7 separate regions of the Homo sapiens genome follow, and regions 1, 3, 4, 5, 6 and 7 are each linked to region 2. Evidence: promoter capture Hi-C in 16 types of primary human blood cells and fetal thymus (Javierre and others, 2016). All regions are on one chromosome and are shown on one strand. Each heading gives the region's core, a stretch centred on a gene start or on the middle of the fragment in contact. The rest is flanking DNA. Distances are from core to core; before and after follow the strand shown.

What was found. The method cuts DNA at HindIII sites, captures the fragments that hold promoters and counts their contacts. A CHiCAGO score of 5 or more calls a contact.
Region 1: a contact is called between a fragment that was not itself captured here and the fragment with the promoter of ACTR1B in region 2, in 3 of 17 cell types (activated CD4 T cells, neutrophils and monocytes). The highest score is 6.8, in activated CD4 T cells.
Region 3: a fragment that was not itself captured here is called in contact with the fragment with the promoter of ACTR1B in region 2 in 3 of 17 cell types (activated CD4 T cells, fetal thymus and monocytes); the score reaches 6.7 in activated CD4 T cells.
Region 4: a contact is called between a fragment that was not itself captured here and the fragment with the promoter of ACTR1B in region 2, in 4 of 17 cell types (monocytes, neutrophils, M1 macrophages and 1 more). The highest score is 11.3, in monocytes.
Region 5: a contact is called between a fragment that was not itself captured here and the fragment with the promoter of ACTR1B in region 2, in 2 of 17 cell types (monocytes and M0 macrophages). The highest score is 7.0, in monocytes.
Region 6: a contact is called between a fragment that was not itself captured here and the fragment with the promoter of ACTR1B in region 2, in 4 of 17 cell types (megakaryocytes, M1 macrophages, M0 macrophages and 1 more). The highest score is 8.1, in megakaryocytes.
Region 7: a fragment that was not itself captured here is called in contact with the fragment with the promoter of ACTR1B in region 2 in 1 of 17 cell types (monocytes); the score reaches 5.9 in monocytes.

The regions. Positions count from the first base shown.
Region 1 is chr2:98,467,929-98,470,628 of GRCh38, reverse strand. The region is part of intron 1 of INPP4A (inositol polyphosphate-4-phosphatase type I A); the gene reads right to left. Among named protein-coding and RNA genes, the nearest start is that of INPP4A, 24 kb to the right of the region's middle. RefSeq lists a silencer at 1,710-1,839. The HindIII fragment of the contact is 3,455 bases long and covers 1-2,700 here.
Region 2 is chr2:97,662,777-97,665,476 of GRCh38, reverse strand. ACTR1B (actin related protein 1B) reads left to right here and starts at 1,433. Exons shown (of 11, transcript NM_005735.4): 1 at 1,433-1,634. The coding sequence starts at 1,587. It overlaps LOC124900516 (U4 spliceosomal RNA), which reads left to right and starts at 746; the gene lies at 746-886. It also overlaps a transcript of C2orf92 not described here and the pseudogene RNU4-8P. RefSeq lists enhancers at 915-1,254, 2,295-2,364, 2,330-2,700 and silencers at 1,335-1,794, 1,875-1,934. The HindIII fragment of the contact is 7,381 bases long and covers 1-2,700 here.
Region 3 is chr2:98,448,870-98,451,569 of GRCh38, reverse strand. All of the region lies in intron 1 of INPP4A (inositol polyphosphate-4-phosphatase type I A), which reads right to left. Among named protein-coding and RNA genes, the nearest start is that of INPP4A, 5.4 kb to the right of the region's middle. The HindIII fragment of the contact is 183 bases long and covers 1,252-1,434 here.
Region 4 is chr2:98,508,630-98,511,329 of GRCh38, reverse strand. The region is part of intron 1 of INPP4A (inositol polyphosphate-4-phosphatase type I A); the gene reads right to left. Among named protein-coding and RNA genes, the nearest start is that of INPP4A, 65 kb to the right of the region's middle. The HindIII fragment of the contact is 9,429 bases long and covers 1-2,700 here.
Region 5 is chr2:98,383,230-98,385,929 of GRCh38, reverse strand. It overlaps CNGA3 (cyclic nucleotide gated channel subunit alpha 3), which reads right to left. Exons shown (of 8, transcript NM_001298.3): 5 at 2,489-2,542. Among named protein-coding and RNA genes, the nearest start is that of CNGA3, 38 kb to the right of the region's middle. RefSeq lists enhancers at 1,393-1,968, 1,969-2,546. The HindIII fragment of the contact is 1,518 bases long and covers 692-2,209 here.
Region 6 is chr2:98,399,794-98,402,493 of GRCh38, reverse strand. No RefSeq gene overlaps it. Among named protein-coding and RNA genes, the nearest start is that of INPP4A, 44 kb to the left of the region's middle. The HindIII fragment of the contact is 200 bases long and covers 1,170-1,369 here.
Region 7 is chr2:98,578,130-98,580,829 of GRCh38, reverse strand. The region is part of intron 24 of INPP4A (inositol polyphosphate-4-phosphatase type I A); the gene reads right to left. Among named protein-coding and RNA genes, the nearest start is that of COA5, 29 kb to the left of the region's middle. The HindIII fragment of the contact is 8,329 bases long and covers 1-2,700 here.

The sequences.
Region 1 (2,700 bases), core at 23-2,522, 810 kb before region 2:
CCCTGAACCACGTCTAACCAGAGGTCACACCAAGGAAGTGACCACCCAACTCAGCACCACTTCTTCCTGTGGTCCTGGTATCATGCTTCCCCTTCCTGCTCCTTCAGTGCCTGGCTGAGAAGGCGAAAGGCCCCACCAGGCCTCCTTGCAGGGGCCGAAGCCCAGCGGGCCATGCCTCCCTGCGGAGGGAAGGGACAGACCACTAAGGAGCAAGGACTTAGAGCTCAGAAGCAGCGCCAAGTGAGTCTCATGCCCCTCCTGAGGCAGGAGTCCAATCAGGGGAACCCCAGGTGGGGCTGCACGTGCACTGGGTCAGCCTCCAGGGGCCAGGTCTCCCCACCTGCACCACTGGGTCCAGAGCTCTTTAAAATCCAGGGGCCGCTCCCCAGTCTAGGACCACAGGGAAACACTCTGAGTGCCAAGCACTCCCAATGGCTCACTGGAGCTCTGTGGTCATGAATTTACAGACTCATCAACATGTCATGTGTTCTTCTCCAGCCACAGGCCACTGTGCTGAGAAGTGGCCAGAACCAGGGCTGTGGTTTTACCAAGTGAGATGTGGACGGACAGGGGCAGGAGGTCACGTGCGTTGGCCCTTTCACATCAGTCATGACTATGCCTCTATGACTGTGGAACCCTCCTTGGTGCACAGCAGAACATGCTGCAGCTCTGCACATCACAGTTCACCTTCACAGCCTGAGAGAAGGAGGGGACTGAGGCTCGGCATCTAAGAGACTGGCTCAACACCAATATGTGGGGATTTGAAACAGGTGGGCCTATTTCATCAGGAGGCCAAGTTCTTTTTGTTGTTGTTGTTGTTGTTTGAGACGGAATTTCTTTCTTGCTGCCCAGGCTGGAGTGCAATGGCGTGATCTCAGCTCACCACAACCTCCACCTCCCAGGTTCAAGGGATTCTCCTGCCTCAGCCTCCCAAGTAGCTGGGATTACAGGGATGCGCCCCAACGCCCGGCTAATTTTTTGTATTTTTAGTAGAGACAGGGTTTCTCCATGTTGGTCAGGCTAGCCTCGAACTCCTGACCTCAGGTGATCTGCCTGCCTTGGCCTCTCAAAGTGCTGACATTACAGGCATGAGCCACCGCACCCGGCCCAAGTTCTTTTTTTTTTTTTTGAGACGGAGTCTTGCTCTGTTGCCCAGGCTGGAGTGCAATGGCGCGATCTCGGCTCACTGCAACCTCCGCCTCCCAGGTTCAAGCCATTCCTTGCCTCAGCCTCCCGAGAAGCTGGGATTACAGGCGCATGCCAGCCACCACACCCGACTAATTTTTGTATTTTTAGTAGAGATGGGGTTTCACCATCTTGGCCAGGCTGGTCTTGAACTCCTGACCTCGTGATCTACCCACCTCGGCCTCCCAAAGTGCCGGGATTACAGGCGTGAGCCACCGTGCCCAGCCAGGAGGCTGGGTTCTAAACCTCTAAGGCCCACTGCTCTCCACCCCAGCTGTACCTCCAAATCACCTCATGGGAAAGGTGGCAAATGTCATGCTGGCCCCACCCAGGATTACACTAATTAGCACAGCATGGGTGGAGGGCAGGCTGCCATGTTTTTCAAAAGCCCCTAGGTGATGGTAAGGTACAGCCAGGATGGGGAAAATTGCAACACTATTCCAGTTCCCCTTACCCCCAGCCCCCAAAACCCCTTTTCCCAGCTGTTCACTTTATCCTGCCATGGTTGACTCATCTCTGCTCTGCTCAAAGCCATCTCAGCAACCACTGTGGGAGGCATTCACCACGCCTCCTAGGCTGGAAGTACCAGTGTGGGCGTGATGTAGAGACTTTGGGTCTCTCTGGCTCTCAATCTCAGCCATGAGCTTTGCATCTAGTTACAGCTAAACTCATGGTCCAGCAATGAACCATGAGGAGTTATCGACTTCTATCATCATCCTTCACAAACTGCAGTCTCACTGGTTTCAGGATCAACAGAACCATCAAAAAGAAATGCCACAGTTCTTAGAATGAGAAATGCGACCCACCAGCCACACACTAAACAGCATTTATTTTGGTTTGGATTTCATTCCCCTTCCTTCCTTTATTACCCTCCCCTAGTGGCACCTTATAAATTTTCTGTTTTCAGCCATACATGGTGGCTCATACCTGAAATCCTAGCGCTTTGGGAGGTCAAGGTGAGAGGATCATTTGAGGCCAGGGGTTCAAGACCACCCTGGGTAACAAAGCAAGACCCCCATCCCTACAAAAAAATAAAAAATAAAATTTAGGCATGGTAAGGCATTTCTGTACTCCCAACTACTCAGAACCCTGAGGTGGGAGGATCACTTAAGTCCAGGAGTTCAAGGCTGCAATGAGCTATGATTACATGGCTGTACTCCAGACTAGACAACAGAGCAAGACCCTGTCTCAATCAATCAATCAATCAATAAAATTGTTTTCTTTACTGAGACATTAAAATTGGTATATCTAAGGATCTCACTTTCTTACTGTAAAACCTCAAAGTTTTACTATTAGTCCACTAAGATTTACTCAGGGTTATTACAAATTCAATTAGTTCATGGTCTCACTGAGTTGGAAAGTATGCTAAGCACTATCATTCATAAATAATTGTAAAACTTAGTTGTGGAACTCGACAAAGATGAGGCTGAACTTACGGCCTGTTCAACCAACAGGCTGTACTCTAAAAGCCCATTTATAAGTTATCTGGAACCCAGAGAACATTTCATTTCATGT
Region 2 (2,700 bases), core at 184-2,683:
ATAAACAATCGCTTCTCACTGCACTCTGCAACTTGCCTTGAATTTCTTCTGGGCAAGATCCAATAACCCTCCCTTGGGGTCTGGATCGGGACCCCTTTTCCAGCAACAATATTGTTTCTTGAACTCGGTGGTTATGCAAGTGTGTCCACATTTTAATCATTCATTGAAATGTACATGTACACTTGTGATTTCTGCACACCCGCTTCAATTTTACAAATTTTATGCTCACAACCCATTGGGAGAGGTATATATACAGGGAAATAACTATGGATCCGTTTGGTAAACAAATGTAGAACTCAACTATCCTGCACTCTTGAAGCAGCTGACTCCAGTGCCGCAGGGGGCTACCTGCATGCCAATTCCACACCCAATAATCTTGGGCAGGTTACCAAAGTGTGAAGACCCTGACTGAAAAATGGGAGTAATAATACAACTACCTGATATTGTTGCAAGGATTTAATATAACTTATGTAAAGTGGGCAGAAGTGCTCCGCAGGCACAGAGCAGGTGCTCAATAAATGCCAGGACCAAAATACCACGAAACTGTAATTTTTATAAGGAAAAGGATCTTTTCTTCAGTGCTCAACGAGGAAATATTATGGGGCCGTGCGCAATAGCTGACGCCTGTAATCCCAACGCTTTGGAAAGACTAAGCGGGAGGATCGCTTAAGCTCAGGAGTTCGAGGCTAGCCCGGGGAACATAGCGAGATCCCTTCTCTACAAAAAAAATTTTTTTTAATTAGCTAGCGTTGCGCGGTGGCCGTATGGTGGCCAATGAGGTTTATCCGAAGCGCGATTATTGCTAATTGAAAACTTTTCGCAATACCCCACCGTGACGACTTGCAATATAGTCGACATCGGCAATTTTTAACAGTCTCTACGGAGACTATTTCAGTAAAAATAAATAAATATGGTGCGCGCCTGTAGTCCCCCCTACTGGCTGGCGCGGGAGGATCGCTTGAGCCCAAGATTTCCAGCCTGAGCGACAGAGCAAGACACCTTACCTAGAAAAAAAGAAAAAATAAATATTTTGGGTGAAATATCCAGGGCCGGCCTCCTTGGAGAGGGCGCTCTCACGAAGGAGCGTGGCCCGAGGTGCTGGGACGCGGGAAAGACGTCTTTCTGGACCGGTGCTGGGACGCGGGAAAGACGTCTTCCTGGACCGGTGAATTTCCAGCTCCACAGACTCCGGCCGCGCGCACACCAGCCCAGCTCCACTTTCTGCCGCCCGCGTCCCCTTTAAGACGGAGCCATGACATCATCCCAGACACTGCGCAGCCTACCTTGGCAACGCCGCGACCACTTTTTTCCGGACGACCTCAATTGGCTGGCCAGCCTCCGGAGGCCCCGCCCCCTTCGCGCAGCCAGCCCCGGGCACCTGCTGTCAATCGGGCCAGGTGGGAGCGATGATTGGCCGCCGGGCCCGCCCTCCAGAAAGCCCCGCGGGGCTCGCGTAGGCTGCAGGCTCGGGGAGGGAGGGCAGCGGCGCCGCGTCGGGAGCCGCCGCCGTCCCGGTCCTCCCGCCCGCCCGCCCATCCGGTGCCTCCTGCAGCCCGCCTGCTGGGCAGGGCCGGCGCGGCCCGGCCATGGAGTCCTACGACATCATCGCCAACCAGCCTGTGGTCATCGACAACGTGAGGCCCGGCAGCCAGGGGGAGGGCGGGCGCCCCGCCCCCGGGGGCGCACGCGGCGGCGCAGGGAGAGACCCCCGCCCGCCTCGGCGCGTCCTCCGCTCACTGCGTGGCCGTCGCCCCCGCCGGGCCGCTGGCTTCGCCCCGGGGGCGCGCGCCCTCTTGGCCTTGTAAGGCCGGCCATGGGGCGAGCCCCCTCGCCCGCGTCGCAGAGCCTCTTCCCCGACCCCTCCCCGAGTCGGGCGGGGAAGTTCAGGAGAGCTTGAGTGACAGCCGGGCGGCCGGGCGGGGACGCGCCCCGGACTCTTCTCAGTTGAGAGTGCGGTTCCTGGGCAGGTTTCCACACCAGTTCCTTTCCGCGTCCTTCGGCCCTGGCTCTGGCTGCCTGGCGGAGGTGGGGTAGCATTTGTCATTTGCACACTGCTGGCTTTATCTTTGGGGCTGCACCCCGAGGCAACAAATGCAGGATGCTCTGTCACCCACATGTCCACCACCATCTGGTTTGCCTTTTGGCTACTTTGACTTTCTCCTTAAATGCTTCCTGTGCTGAGCAAACATTCCACAGCCAGCAGAGCAATGGAGAGTTCATGGCCACTCTTCCCAGTATCAGCAAGCAATTTGGGGTGATCGTTTGGAAGCCTCAGAGGAAAGATGTCATCAGGCTTCCTGTGGCTTTGTCCTTCAGCAGTGGGGCTCGGCTTGCTTTCACCTGCCTTAGGAAGATTTCTGGCTTCCGAGCTCTGATATGGGGAGAAGATAAGGGCTGGGATCTTTGAGTCTGCCCCTAGCTGGGTATGTGCGTCCGGTGTGCGGGCCTTGGAGTTTTTGGTAATGACTCACTTGTGCTCTTTCTGGGATCTGTCTCCCTCCCACATGACCCCGTGGGGTCCCTGAATGACTGTTTTAGAGTACCCATGTGGGTTCCCTGAGTCACAGCAGGGGATGTTTAATAAGGAGGTTAGCACTGAGCTTGGGGACGTGCTGTCACACCAGCAGGACGCTGCAGGAAGGAGCAGGCTACTTCCTTTCTTGACGTGCAAATAACTCGTATAGGCTAATCAACAGGCTT
Region 3 (2,700 bases), core at 94-2,593, 790 kb before region 2:
GGTGCAAAAAGAGGGGCGCTGCAGCAACCGGAGGTCAGGAAAACTACCAGGTGTCTCAGGGAAAGCGCTCTAGGAGGATCCCAGGACCGGAGCTGGCAGCGGGTAAACACTTTCCTCTTTCAGAGGTCCCCACCCTTCTTCCTGGACATCAGAGGACATCCCTGTCTTCCTGACCCTATTCCAGAAAATAGACCTCACCAGAGCATGATCCCCCCACTGCCCCCACCATATACATCTGCTTACTGTGCCTAAGTCCCTCGCCAGGTGAGCCTCACTGAACAAGTTTCATATTAAAAGGCCAGCAGTCTCACCCATGCTCCAGGTTAGGGCTGTGGGCAAACACCAGAGGCCAGCTGGGCTGGCTGGCTGGCAGGCCTGGGCCTGACAGCCTGATAGGGCATGACAAAGGTATGTGCAAAGACCAGAAAGAGACATGCACACTGCACCCAGGACCCTGGCTTTCCAATCCCAGACAGGCTATGGTGAAAGGGACAGCTAAGGCCGGGTGCAGTGGCTCATGCCTGTAATCCCAGCACTTTGGGGGGCAGAGGTGGGTGGATCACCTGAGGTGAGGAGTTCAAGAACAGCCTGGCCAACATGGTGAAACCCCGTCTCTACTAAAAATACAAAATTAGCCAGGCATGGTGGTATATGCCTGTAATCTCAGCTACTAGGGAGGGTGAGGCAGGAGTACTGCTTGAACCCAGGGGGCGGAGGTTGCAGTGAGCCGAGGTTGCAGGCTAGAGCCACTGCACTCTAGCCTAGGCGACAGAGTGAGACTCCATCTCAAAAAAAACAGAAAGAGACAACTAAGAGATTAAATCCACAGAGGAAAGGCTGATCTAATTCCAAGCTCTGCCAACCACCCACACTCTGTATACGAATCCATTGTAATGCTTCCGTTCTGCACACTTACTAGGCACCAGGATTAAATGTTAATTCATTTAATCCCCCAACAAGCCTCTGGGGCTGCTACTACCAGCAGCCCAGTTTTGTGGATGAAATAACTGAGGCACAGAAAGATTAAGCCACTTGCCCAAAGTCACACAGCTAGCTGGATGCTCACAGAAAGTGCAGCACCAGAGTCCACAATAGTTCTAGGGATAAAATAAATGGTTTCGAAAGATGTGTATGCTCAGCAAAAAGGACTGTGTAAAAGAAATTCCTGATTTATAAACCAAAATACTGAAAACAGAAATTGTTGATACTGGCAAATCCAGGTAATCAATTTTTATCCCTCATTGAAAAGCTTTCATTTTTCAATCCTGTGAAGGAAGTTAGGTGATATAACTGGGTTTTAGTCCCAGTTGAGCCTCTTTTAACTACCCTCGGGGGATGCTCTAACCACTCCTCAACACCACAGCTCACCTTTGGACAGAACCTCCCACAGGATGTCCAGGGAGGCCTGGCATGCAGGGGGTACTCAGAAAAGCTTGGGTTCCTTGTCATTTAGGACTTTAAAAAAAAATTAAAAAAGCATCACACTTAAAAAAACATTCTAAAGCTGCCAAGAATAAAATTCAAAGTTACCGTAACTTCCACAATCTAGTAAGATAAGGAAAAACAGCCCAACAAGAAAAAATGAACAAAGGATATAAACAGGTAATTCATTAGAAGTTAAAATATACATTAACAAGAAAAGGTATCCAATATTTTTGGTAATTTGGGAAATGCAATTAAAACAATAATGTCTTCCTTGCCCATTAGATTGGCAAAATTAACAAGATTTATTCTCTTAAATGTTGGCCAAGTTAAAGGGAAACAGACAGTTTCAAAGCCTAATGGAAGGAGTACAAATTTAAAAAGCAAGCCACAGAAAATTTTGTGTAATGTGACTACATTTATGTTTACAATGAGAGCATCTATCCCCTGAGAAGGTCTAGAATGGGTGACACCTCAGTAGCAACGAGAATACATAGTGCCTACATCTCGGTTTTTATACCACTCTCCACTAAAGGAAACCAGGACTCTTTGGAGAAATGGCTGATTCCAGGGCTGGGACAAGGAAAGTATAAGCTGAGTCCTTGAAGATTTTGTGCCTGGAAGAAAAGTCCTCAAAGAATGATGAGCACTTGTCAAAAGGACACAAAAGCCAGACTGAAGGGACTCCCACTGGCCAAATCTAGGATAATTTGAGCAACAAAATGCATAATGGGAGTAATGGACTATAATCTATTGAATAAAGCAAGAATTCATGAGTCCAGTGATGTAAATCAAAAAGTAAATAATAGAGAAAGGAAGGTTTCTTCCTTTCAGTACAGTTCCAACTAATAAATATAGAAGGAACCATGAAAATCATCATCTGCCTACTATCATAATAATTGACTCAGGTAAGAAACATCAATGAATTCTGAAACTAGTCAGTTAATTGTATGAGCAGTAACTATATTTACATAGTCTCAAATTCTCTTCCTTTAAGACACAGATTAACTACAAAGGGAAAAATGGTAACTTTTCCATGAGATAGACACCACCTTAATTCAAGTGATCAAAGTTAGCAGGGCCAGAGAATGGGATAATCACAGCATATGCCTCCTGATGGGATACATTAAGAAGGCTGCAGCATTATTCGGGCACAGTGGCTCACGCCTGTAAACTCAGCACTGTGGTCGGCCAACGCAGGAGGATGGCGAGAGTAGGAGTCTGAGACCAGCCTGGGCAACACAGTGTGAGATCCAGCCCCTATAAAATATTTAAAAA
Region 4 (2,700 bases), core at 187-2,686, 850 kb before region 2:
TCCCAGCACTTTGGGAGGCCAAGGCAGGCAGATCACAAGGTCAGGAGATCGAGACCATCTTGGCCAACGTGGTGAAACCCCTTTCTACTAAAAATACAAAAAATTAGCTGGGCGTGGTGGCACGTGCCTGTAGTCCCAGCTACTTGGGAGGCTGAGGCAGAAGAATCGCTTTAACCCGGGAGGTGGAGGTTGCAGTGAGCCCAGATCGCACTACTGCACTCCAGCCTGGGCAACAAAGCGAGACTCCATCTCAAAAAAAAAAAAATTGAATCAAGCACAGGAAGAGAAGTAACATGCTGGCAATGCGTATCCCTTCTCACCTGCAGACACAAATGACCTGACTTAGGGCCCCCGAGCTTGTGCTCACTGGGAGATGTTCATTTATCTCTGGCTTTCCATTTCCCAAGCCCTACTGTCTGCCAGTGATGATGGACAGGCAGCAATGGCAATGAGTTAACTTCATTTACTTAACTGACATGCCTCATTAGTTTAATAAATATGCTTACTACTATAATACAGGGCCTGAACCAGAATACAAATGCACATCCCAGACTCCAATGGAGGGAGTCAGTCACTGTGCTACAGTCTGAATGTGTCCCCCAGAATTCCTTATGTTGAAATGTAGCCATCAATGTGATAGTATTAAGAAGCGGGGCCTTTGGGAGGTGATTAGACCCTGAGGGCTCTGGCCTCATAGGTGGGATTAGTGCTGTATGAAAGGGCTGGAGGGAACTAGGTAGGCCCTTTTTGCCCTTCACCTTTTGTCATGTGAGGACATGGCAAGAAGGCCCTCAGCAGACCCTAAATGCCAGCGCCTTCCCAACATCCACAGGTCTAAGAAGTACATTTCTGCTGTTTACCAGTCTCAGTTATTTTGTTATAGCAGCCTGAACTGACTGAGATACCTTGGATAGGGACATGGATATCCCTGTAAACAAGAGGGCAGAGGAGGATGCTCCAGGAGCAGAACAAGCCCAGACCGTTCCAGCCTTCCTCTTTCACCTCACCAGCCCCTCAAGGTTTCCCATCTCAGTAGATGGAGTTCTGTCCTTCCACTTGCTCCAGGCAAGAAATAACATCCTGGCCTCCTCCTCCTCTCACATCCCACATCCAATCCATTGACAACTCTATTAGCTCTATCTTCCCCACAAGTACGACTTCAACTCCCTTAGTACCCCAACTCCCATACCCTGGGAATTTGACCAGCGTCCCTCCCACAGTCCTCACAGTCTGTGTCCAACTGCAATGACGGGGCCTGTGAACCTCCTAGCAGTGTCTTCATCCTGCTCCTGCCCTGGCCTCTTTGCTGTTTAGACTTTTATCTGGTGTGGCCTTTGCATCAGCCACCCTCTCTGGGACTGCCCTTCCTCAGATAACAAGGCAGGCAATTCCCTCACTTCTTTTATGTCCTTCTTGGTTCCCAGCTTCTCCTGGAGTTCTTTGGGACAGCCCAGTTTACAACTGCAGCTCAGCTCCTTGTGGTTCACCCATATACCATGAACGTTCAGGGGATTTTCTGTAAGAAGCAGTTTGAAAATAAGTTGCCCTGAAAAAAGTGCTTTAAAATGTTTGTGCTGAGCAAAACAGGTGCTCACAATCTGGGAGATGAGTGAGATGTGTCAATAATCACAAGCGCAATGTCTGGGAGGTGCCAGGAGCAGCCTGGGGTGGGCGGGGATCTGCCGACTGCCTTCCACACCACACACTTCAGCCACTCTTTCTTCAGCACCTCCAATTTCTTGCTTCTGCACCTCATGCTGTTTCTTCTCTGTAAACTGGCAATCTCTTTAACACAGCAGTCCCCAACCTTATTGACACCAGGGACTGGTTTTGTGGAAGACAATTTTGGGGGGCTGGTCAAGGGGAGTGGTTTCGCGACGAAACTGTTCCACCTCAGATCATCAGGCATTAGTTAGATTCTCATAAGGAGCACGCAACCCAGATCCCTCACATACGCAGTTCACAACAGGGTTTGTGCTCCTACGAGAATCTAATGCCACCGCTGATTGACAAGAAGTGGAGCTCAGGCAGTAATGCCTGCCACTCGCCTCCTGCTGTGCAGCCCAGTTCCTAACAGGCCACAGGCCAGTACTGGTCTGCAGCCCGGGGACTGTGGACTCCTGCTTTAACAAACAGTTGAGGGTCTATTATGGAGCAGGCCTTAGGGATACAAAGATGATAAGAGGCTTGGTCCAGAGCTACATCACAAAGTGTAACAAAGATGAATGGTAGACAACCTGAGGCCCACAATGGTGGGGGCCAAGCCTCTTCTGAAGCCTTCCCTTGGGTGAGGGGCTGGCTTGCTACTCTGTCCTTTCCAGGCAGCGGCACCCCTGGGTTCTGCAGCCAGGGATTCTGGGGCTTTTTCTTGAGGTGAATCAACCCAGTGTTCCCATACATGACCCCTCTCACTCCCGCGCACCAGGCCTCATTCGTCATTTGATTACCACATCAATTTCACAATACCACAGACAAAGACAACAGGAACACTGTACATGGCGGTCTGCTGTCAGAGCTGCGTGGTTAGGACTGCAGTCAGCGTGCACCAGGAGCAGCGCGGTTCTCTCTCCTACAACAGGCAAGGACTTTGACAAGTCTCATTTCTTACTCCATTGTCACTTGAAACCACTTGAAGCCCTCACACAATTAACTGAAAGTTTGCCCGTCTGTTGTCCAGGAAGTCCTTCCAGCGTGTCACAT
Region 5 (2,700 bases), core at 201-2,700, 720 kb before region 2:
TGGTGCTTTGCTTGAGACAGTGAGTGAGTTTTCTTGAGATCTGGTTGTTTACGGCACCTACCCCACCTTCCTCCTGCTCCTGCCGTTTGAGACTCCTTGCTCCCCCTTTGCCTTCCACCATGATTGAAAGCTTCCTGAGGCCTCCCCAGAAGCAGAAGCTGCTATGCTTCCTGTATAGCTTGCAGTACCTCAAGCCAATTAAACCACTTTTCTGATAAATTACCGAGTCTCAGGCATTTCTTTCTAGCAATGTGAGAATGGACTAATACACTTGTCCAAGGTCACAAAGCTCTGAGGCAACTGAGTTGGGAAACAGATGCTCTTAACAAGTATATGTATATATAAAATATATTGTATCAATCTAAGTATTCAATATATATGCCTAGGAAGAAGTTGGAAGTATATTTGTCAACATGTTAAGTGGGGCTATCTCTGATAGTGGAATTCCATGGTTAGCATGAAGTGCAGTTTTTGTGTGTGTATGCCCCTGTGTGCTTTTCTTGTTTTCCAAGTTTTCAGCAAGAGTATTTCAATAAAGTGAATTAGAATAAAAGGTTATTAAAATCATTAAATGAAAAGAGCAAGGAAAGTTACCCCTCCTCTGTCCTCCAGGGTGATGTGAACCCTGGTCTCTTTTCAGGCACTGGAGTCTTAACGTCAAGTCACCAGCAGACGGCGCTGCCCTCAAGCTTTTTGGGTGAGCTTTGCCCTGCAGTTTACGCCGGACTCAGCTTGCCTTGTGCAAGATTTGTGGCCCTGGATTACGGGCCTTGGCCTGTCTGGGTACCAAACTGCTGAGAGCCTAGGAAAGACCCAGCACCATCGGCTGCATCCCCAAATCCACCCAGCACTGCCCCAAAAGAACCCTACACAGAACTGCAAAATGCTGCTGGTTTTGGCTGGGAACAGTTTGATGGGGGAGGGAAAAATTATTCAGGACAAATGAGACCATATGAAAATGACAGAAATGGAGTGAAGAGTCGGGGAAGGTGTTCATAAATAATTATTTTGTGTGTGTCCTCATTTTGGGATAGTTCCCAGTTTTGTCCCTTGGTCCTTGGCTTCAAAGTGGACCAGTGAAGTGAGCCCATTTATTGAAAGATTGAAGAGCCGGGTGCAGCCCACGCTATCCACCCACATCCTTGCCCACACCCCAGCCCCAGGACAAAGATGCCTAGAAACCCCCAGGACCTCTGTCCATGGTTTCAGTATCTGGAGCCGTTCCCTGCCTGAAAGACTTGATACTGCAGCTGCAAGGGTGTTTAGTGTCAGGTTTGGCTTTAAGTCAAACACATATCACTATAGCTATTGCTTTGTAGATAAAATCATCTCATTTTTCGTTATGGCTGGCATTTGGGTCTCTGGATTTGATGTCCAAATTTATGCAAACAAAAGACATGCTTCCTTCATGGAGAAAATAGAAAAAAGTTCTAGCTGAGGAACAAAGAGAGAAATAACAAGAAAAACCCTTGGCACATTTCTCTGTCTGTTGGAAGTCAAGAAATCGGCATTTCTCACTGATATAGGTATTTTTTCCCTAATCTCCAACTAAGACTTCCCCTCCTGAATAGTGCCACGCTGTCCCTAATCTGCCACCTTAGTATCTGGTGATGGAAAAAGGAATTATAGCAGGTCACCCTTTGAAGAGGCTATTCTCTGGACATATTTAAATTGCCTTTTTCCACTGCTCTGATTACGCCCCCAAAATTGGCCCAAATTGGCCTTAAAACACGGGAACTTCAGGCGAGGCGCAGTGGCTCATGCCTGTAATCCTAGCACTTTGGAGGCCGAGGCGGGTGGATCACGAGGTCAGGAGGTCGAGACCATCCTGGCTAACACGGTGAAACCCCCCCTCTCTACTAAAAATACAAAAAAACTAGCCGGGTGTGGTGGCGGGCGCCTGTAGTCCCAGCTACTCGGGAAGCTGAAGCAGGAGAATGGCGTGAACCCGGGAGGCGGAGCTTGCAACGAGTCAAGATGGCGCCACTGCACTCCAGCCTGGGTGACAGAGCAAGACTCCATCTCAAAAACAAACAAACAAACAACAATAACAACAGCAGCAAAAACAAGGGCATTTCACTGGCACTCAAGAGCCTGAGGTTGTAGAATAAGAAAATGCCTTTTCATCATTAAGGAGAATCTCCAGTGCTCTGTCAAGGAACTCCGGTTCTGCACCCTCAGATATATCGTGGTATAGAGTGCTAAAGCTTAAAGCATTTATCTGATCCAATTCCTTTGCTTTATGGATGAGAAAAATGAGAGGCGAAGAGATCAGACGACTTCCCCAAGAAGTCACACAGATCTCATCCCTCCCCGACTTCTGTCCACAGGGATGGAATTCCAACGAAGGGAACAGGATTCTAAAATATTCTACTGGTGCTCTGGGAGTGGGGAGCAGGAGCACTAAGGAGAGAGGCCAAGCTGGGGCTTCTATGGGGTGGAGGGCACCGGGCTTGGGGAGGGCTCTGCTGGGTGTGTGGGTACTTACTCCTCCTCCGTGTTGTTGCTGGTGTTAGTGTTGCATTTGGCCAGGGGCCAGGCGCTGCGGGAAGGTAGAGAGAACATCAAGGGTCTGAACTCTGTTTCCATTCCTTGGGGCCATTTCACCAGGGGATTACCATGCCCCACCCCCCAATCCCTATCCCACTGCTTCCAGCCTTTGCACTCACAGCTTGAAGAATACGGGGTGGTATTGTCAAG
Region 6 (2,700 bases), core at 20-2,519, 740 kb before region 2:
GGTTCACAGCAAAATTCCCATATACCTGCAACATACTTCATATTTTTGAAAGTGGTATCAAAGGTGCATTTGCTGTGACAGATGAACCTACACTGACAATTTTTCTCTTGAAGTCCATAGTTTACATTGGTGTCCACTCTTGGTGTTGAACATTCTGTGGGTTTTCACAAAGGTATAACAACATGTATTTACCACTACAGTATCATACAGAGTATTTTCAGTGCCCTGAAACTCTCTGCACTCCACCTGTTTATGCTTCTACTCCCCCAACCCCTGGCAAACACTAATTTTTTTTTTTTACTTTTGCCACAATTTTGTCCTTTCCCAAATGTCATATTCGGAATATCTTTTTTGATTTTTAAGACATTTTTCCTTTCCATCTTTGATTTCTCTTAAAACATTGCTTACTATGTTTATTTGCTCTTGTGTTCCTTTTAATTCAGTTTTTAAAATTTTTTTTGTTCTTTTATTTCTAGTACTTTTCTGAGTTCTGTTACAGCTCTTGTCAAATCTTCCTTTTCCTCAATCACCTCATCCTTGATTCTGGTTTATGCTGTTTTTTTTTTAATAGCATCTATCATTCTCTTAATTTCTCTTGGCTGGTTTTGAAATGATGAGTCAGTTTACATCCGTTCTGTGGGCATGTCTTTCTGGTGGGTTTCATTATCTGCAGAGATGTTATACTCCATCTGATTCTTCCTCGCTGTCTTTTTAATAAAGACTTTGCATGAAATTTGAGGGTGCATCTTTTCTGTTGTTCGTCTTCTAAGTGAGTTGAATGTGCTTATACTTTAGAGAGAAGAGATGGAGCATGATTTACTTTTTTCTAACTTCATAGTTCTCTAATTCTCTCTTCGGCTGTTTTCTCAAAGTGATAAAAATATATATGAAGTAGTGCTACCTCCTCTGCTTCTCTACCCTCTTTTATCTAAACTTTTTCTTTCCTTTGTCACTACTGTTTCTGTCCTGTGATCAATTTGGATTTTACTCCAAATTGTCTCTCAGTGAGGGGTTTTGTCTTAGAAGGAAGCTTCTTTCATACTAGAAGAAAACATAGGGTAAATCCTCCATGACATTGATCTGGGAAATTATTTTTAAAGATGTGAACCCAAAAACACAGACCACAAAAGCAAAAATAGACAAATAGGATTACATTAAACTAAAAAGCTTCTGCACAGCCAAGGAAACAAACAAGAGTGAAGAGACAACCTACAGAATGAGAGAAAATATTTGCAAACCATACATTGATGAGGGTTAATATCTAAAATATATAAGGAACTCAAACAACTCAATAGCAAGCAAACAAATAACCCAATGTAAAAATGGGCAAAGGATCTGAATAGATGTTTCTCAAATAAAGAAAGAAGCTTTATTCTGTGAACATCCAGAGTGTGCAGCACCGAGAGTGTCCCTGCACATCAATCTTGCAGCATCATTGTCAATTTGCTGTCACCCACAAATTGATCCCTGCAGAATCTCCCTTAATTCCAGCTGTTCTCAGACAGGCTCTCCATGCTTTTTAGTGAGCACCTGTTGGTGATTTGGGTGTTTTCATATCCTCAGGGATGTCAGATGTTGTCTGTGGATCTTTAGATTTGTTATCTTATTTGCTGTGTTTTATGTGAGGACTTAGAGAGCCCAACAAACTACACTGCCACCACCACCATTTTTCCAGAATCTCAAAAATCTTAATGAAGTTTCTACCATAATAATAATACATATTCTTTAATTGTTACATTGCCTTCCTCTCTCTGATCTTCCTGCCTCCCACTTATCAGAATCCTTGTGATTATATCAGGTCCCCTTGGAAAATCCAGGATAACTTTCCCACCTCAACCTCCTTACTGTAATCCCATTCACATGACCAGTTGATATTGACATTATGTTCCCCCATGGCAGTGTAGAGGCTGCTGGATCCTTGGCTCCAGTTCTGAGTGCAAGATCCATCAATAAGGCTTTACATCCTGGGGTGGAAAGTATCAAATAATCTACATATATGATCTGGAATCCTTCTGTAAAAAATATGTGTCCTTTCTCCCTCATTAATTTATTTATTCAATCATTCATTTATGGCATAGACTCATGGACTTTTATACTTTGGGATATAGTCTAATACTAAATTTAAAAATTTTGTTTTTCAAATGGCTTCAGTTTTGGCCATTGGGAGCTCTTTCAGGTTGGTTGCTATGTCCCTCTAATTTACTTCCATCATTGTGTGTGTGTGTGTGTGTGTGTGTGTGTGTGTGTGTGTGTGTATGTAGAAAGCCCTATCGCCACTTGCCCCCCAACATTGTGCTTTTTGAGTACTTTCCGGCACTACAAGACACTCCATGCTCATGGTATATTTTCCCCGTCTCAGCCCTAGAATCAGCCCTGGTTCCTTTTATTGGAGAAAGATATTTGGAAACCAAGATCTGGGTGCTTGGTGTGCTCTTTGTAATAGGTATCACTGCCAAGCCTTCTTGGTACACAGAGTTAGAAATATATCTATGTATACCAACATATATATACATACACACACACACACACACACACACACACACCTACAATCATTTCTGCATCTGTCTACCTGGATATATAAATAAACGTGAGTTCATTCTAATGTCTGATTTCAATCCAGTACCACAGGGTTCATTCTGATCTTGTGTGGTCTTATTTGTAACTTCTTTTTCTGACTATGATAAATCTGGCTTCCATTTT
Region 7 (2,700 bases), core at 61-2,560, 920 kb before region 2:
CCACATGACTCTGGAAGCACATTTATGTCTGCCAAGTGGCAGCAGTGACACAGAATCAGAGGCCTGAGGACACAGCAGGCAGCCTGTGAAGGCTCCACTTGGAGATGGGGAGGCAGGAGGCCCAGGGTTCCTCTTCACACAGAGCCCTCCCCAGCTCTCCCAGAGGAGCCCCGAAGCCCCCATGGCCCTGCTGGAATGTGCCATTCTGAGAGGGCACAATTCCCAAGCTGCGGAGCACCGACCCACTGCCACATTCCCTGCCAGGAGAGGCTGGCAGGGCCCTGTGGCTACTCAGGAAGGCCTACTTCGAGGGGTTCAGCCCCAGGACTGGGGACAGGAACACCCCAGTGGCCAAATGTGTGAATCTCTTCCCAACTCCATGTTCAATGGTGCCACATGGGAGCTTGAAATGGGCCCTGGTAGAAGCGTTTATGCCACAGAAATGGCAAACATTACAGATCAGGGCTTTTGGGGAGAGAGCTGGTGGCTGAACATTTACAGCACAGCACTGGCCATGGTTCACCCTGGGCCTCCAGGAGAAAAGCCTGGGTGCCAGCTTGGCCCCCACCCCCTCCACCCCCACCTGCATGCTCTACTCTTCCGTCTGATAAGATGCAAGCCAGAAAGCCAGGAACCAAAATGTCCTCCTGCACCCACGGGCAGGGTGGAAGTTTATGCTGCCTTCTGGGGCCCTCAGCTAAACTGCAGGTACTCGGCACCCCAGCAGCCAGAGCTGCTAGCTTGTGACCCAGCCACCTCGGCTTGCAGCCGCCTGAACAGGTACATGTCTTCCCCTCATGGGATCGTATCGAAAACAGAAGTCACCTTAAAACAAATGCCTGTGACAAGAGCCTCAGACCTGCAAGGGTTGGCTCAAGGTGGCAGTGAGCCATGTCCCCAGAGCTGGTGCGAGAATTCTGGGGCAGGCACAGGTAAAGTAGGATTGAGCTTTGTTTTGTTTTTATAACTTCTTTAAAAACTATTAAAGTGATACATGTTCACTGTAGAGATTTCAGAAAACAAAGAAATAAGCAAGTAAAAAAGGCATCCATGATTGGAGGCAGGGGTGGGGTTTAGAAAGGAAGAGGGCAGGGTGGAGGGAATGCTGCCTGTTCCCACAGGAGGAAGGGCCTTCCCTTTGCCAGGCCCCAGGGCCCTTACTGCTAATGCAGAGAAACAACAGCCCTTACAGCTTCAGAAGCCTCACAAGAGTGACAGGAAAGACAGCGCCCGGCATGGGCAGTGCCTCGTGCACTCTGGGACACTGGGCAGGAGAGTGGCTACTGTGGGGACCATTTGGTGATCTGTACTAAAATTATTCAAAAGCCTTACAAAGGTGTATACTTTTTAACCTAAGGCAATGTGGCTAGGGGAATGTATAAGGATATTCACTGCACCTTTGATTAAAATGCTGGAAAACCATATACAGCTTAAATATTCAATGACAGCAAATTGGATAAATTATAGTGTGTAAAATGCGGCTGGGCATGGTGGCTCACGTCTGTAATCCCAGCACTATGGGAGGCCAAGGTGGGCGGATCACCTGAGGTCAGGAGTTTGAGAACATCCCGGCCAACATGGCCAAACCCCGTTTCTACTAAAAATACAAAAAATTAGCCAGGTGTGGTGGTGGGCATCTGTAATCCCAGCTACTCAGGAGGCAAGGGCAGAATTGCTTAAACTCTGGAGGTGGAGGATGCAGTGAGCCAAGACTGCACCATTGCACTCCAGCCTGGGTGACAGAGCAAGATTCCATCTCAAAAAAAAAAAAAGAAAAAAAAAGTGATAAGGTCTACATTTATTAACCTAAAAAATGCTCACAAGACTGTTATTTGCAAATATAATTACACTTGTTTGTGCATGTGGGTGTTTTTGTTCTGTGTAATTCAGGGACTGGTTGGCCCATGTGTACATACTCACGCCCATAGGCATGTACGCATGTCTCTTATCTAGACAGTATGTATCCAAATGTCCGCAGCGCTACCTGTTCACATTAGGAAACTGGGGGATTCTTTGTGGGAGGGTTCTGAGGAACTAGTGTAGGGGCTTATCTGTATTTCCTAATTTTCCTACAAGGATTTTCAATTCCTTATGTGAGTAAAAGTTATAAAAAGTGCTTTGTGCACTATACATCCTAACAGCTGTAACTGTAACGGCTGTCCTGAGCACACAACCCAAGTGTGCTAGGGGCAGGCGGATGGGGCCCTTGCGGGTCTGGGCTCAGTGACAGGCCTGCCATCGCACTGTGGCTCTCCAGGGGGCCACTTTGTCACTGGTCTCCTGAGGTCTTTGTGTTCAGAGGTGGTCAGAATGAATTGTTTCCGTTGAACTTGTTCGAGAGCCCGAGAACTGAGTAGAGGTTTCCGCATGGACTGTGTGCCTAACTTGGGGTGCCAGCTCCTGACTGGCCCTGATCCTGCTCCTTGCTGCCACTACCACAGGGATCCCTGTCCACTTTGTTCTCCTTTCTTCACTGGCTGAGGTCTGCAGCTCACCAGAATGTCCCCTCCCACCACCGTGCAGCTAATGGGCACAGGCGTGGCTGCCGTCCCTCAGCACCAGGGTCACACTGGACATCAGGCCTGAATGGCACCAAGGCTCCTGGGGAGCAGACCAGGGAATTAAAATTTTAAAAAGGCGCCCCAGAGCACCGGTCTTTGAGTCTCCATTGCTTCCCTGAGCCTGGGCAGAGGGATGGCG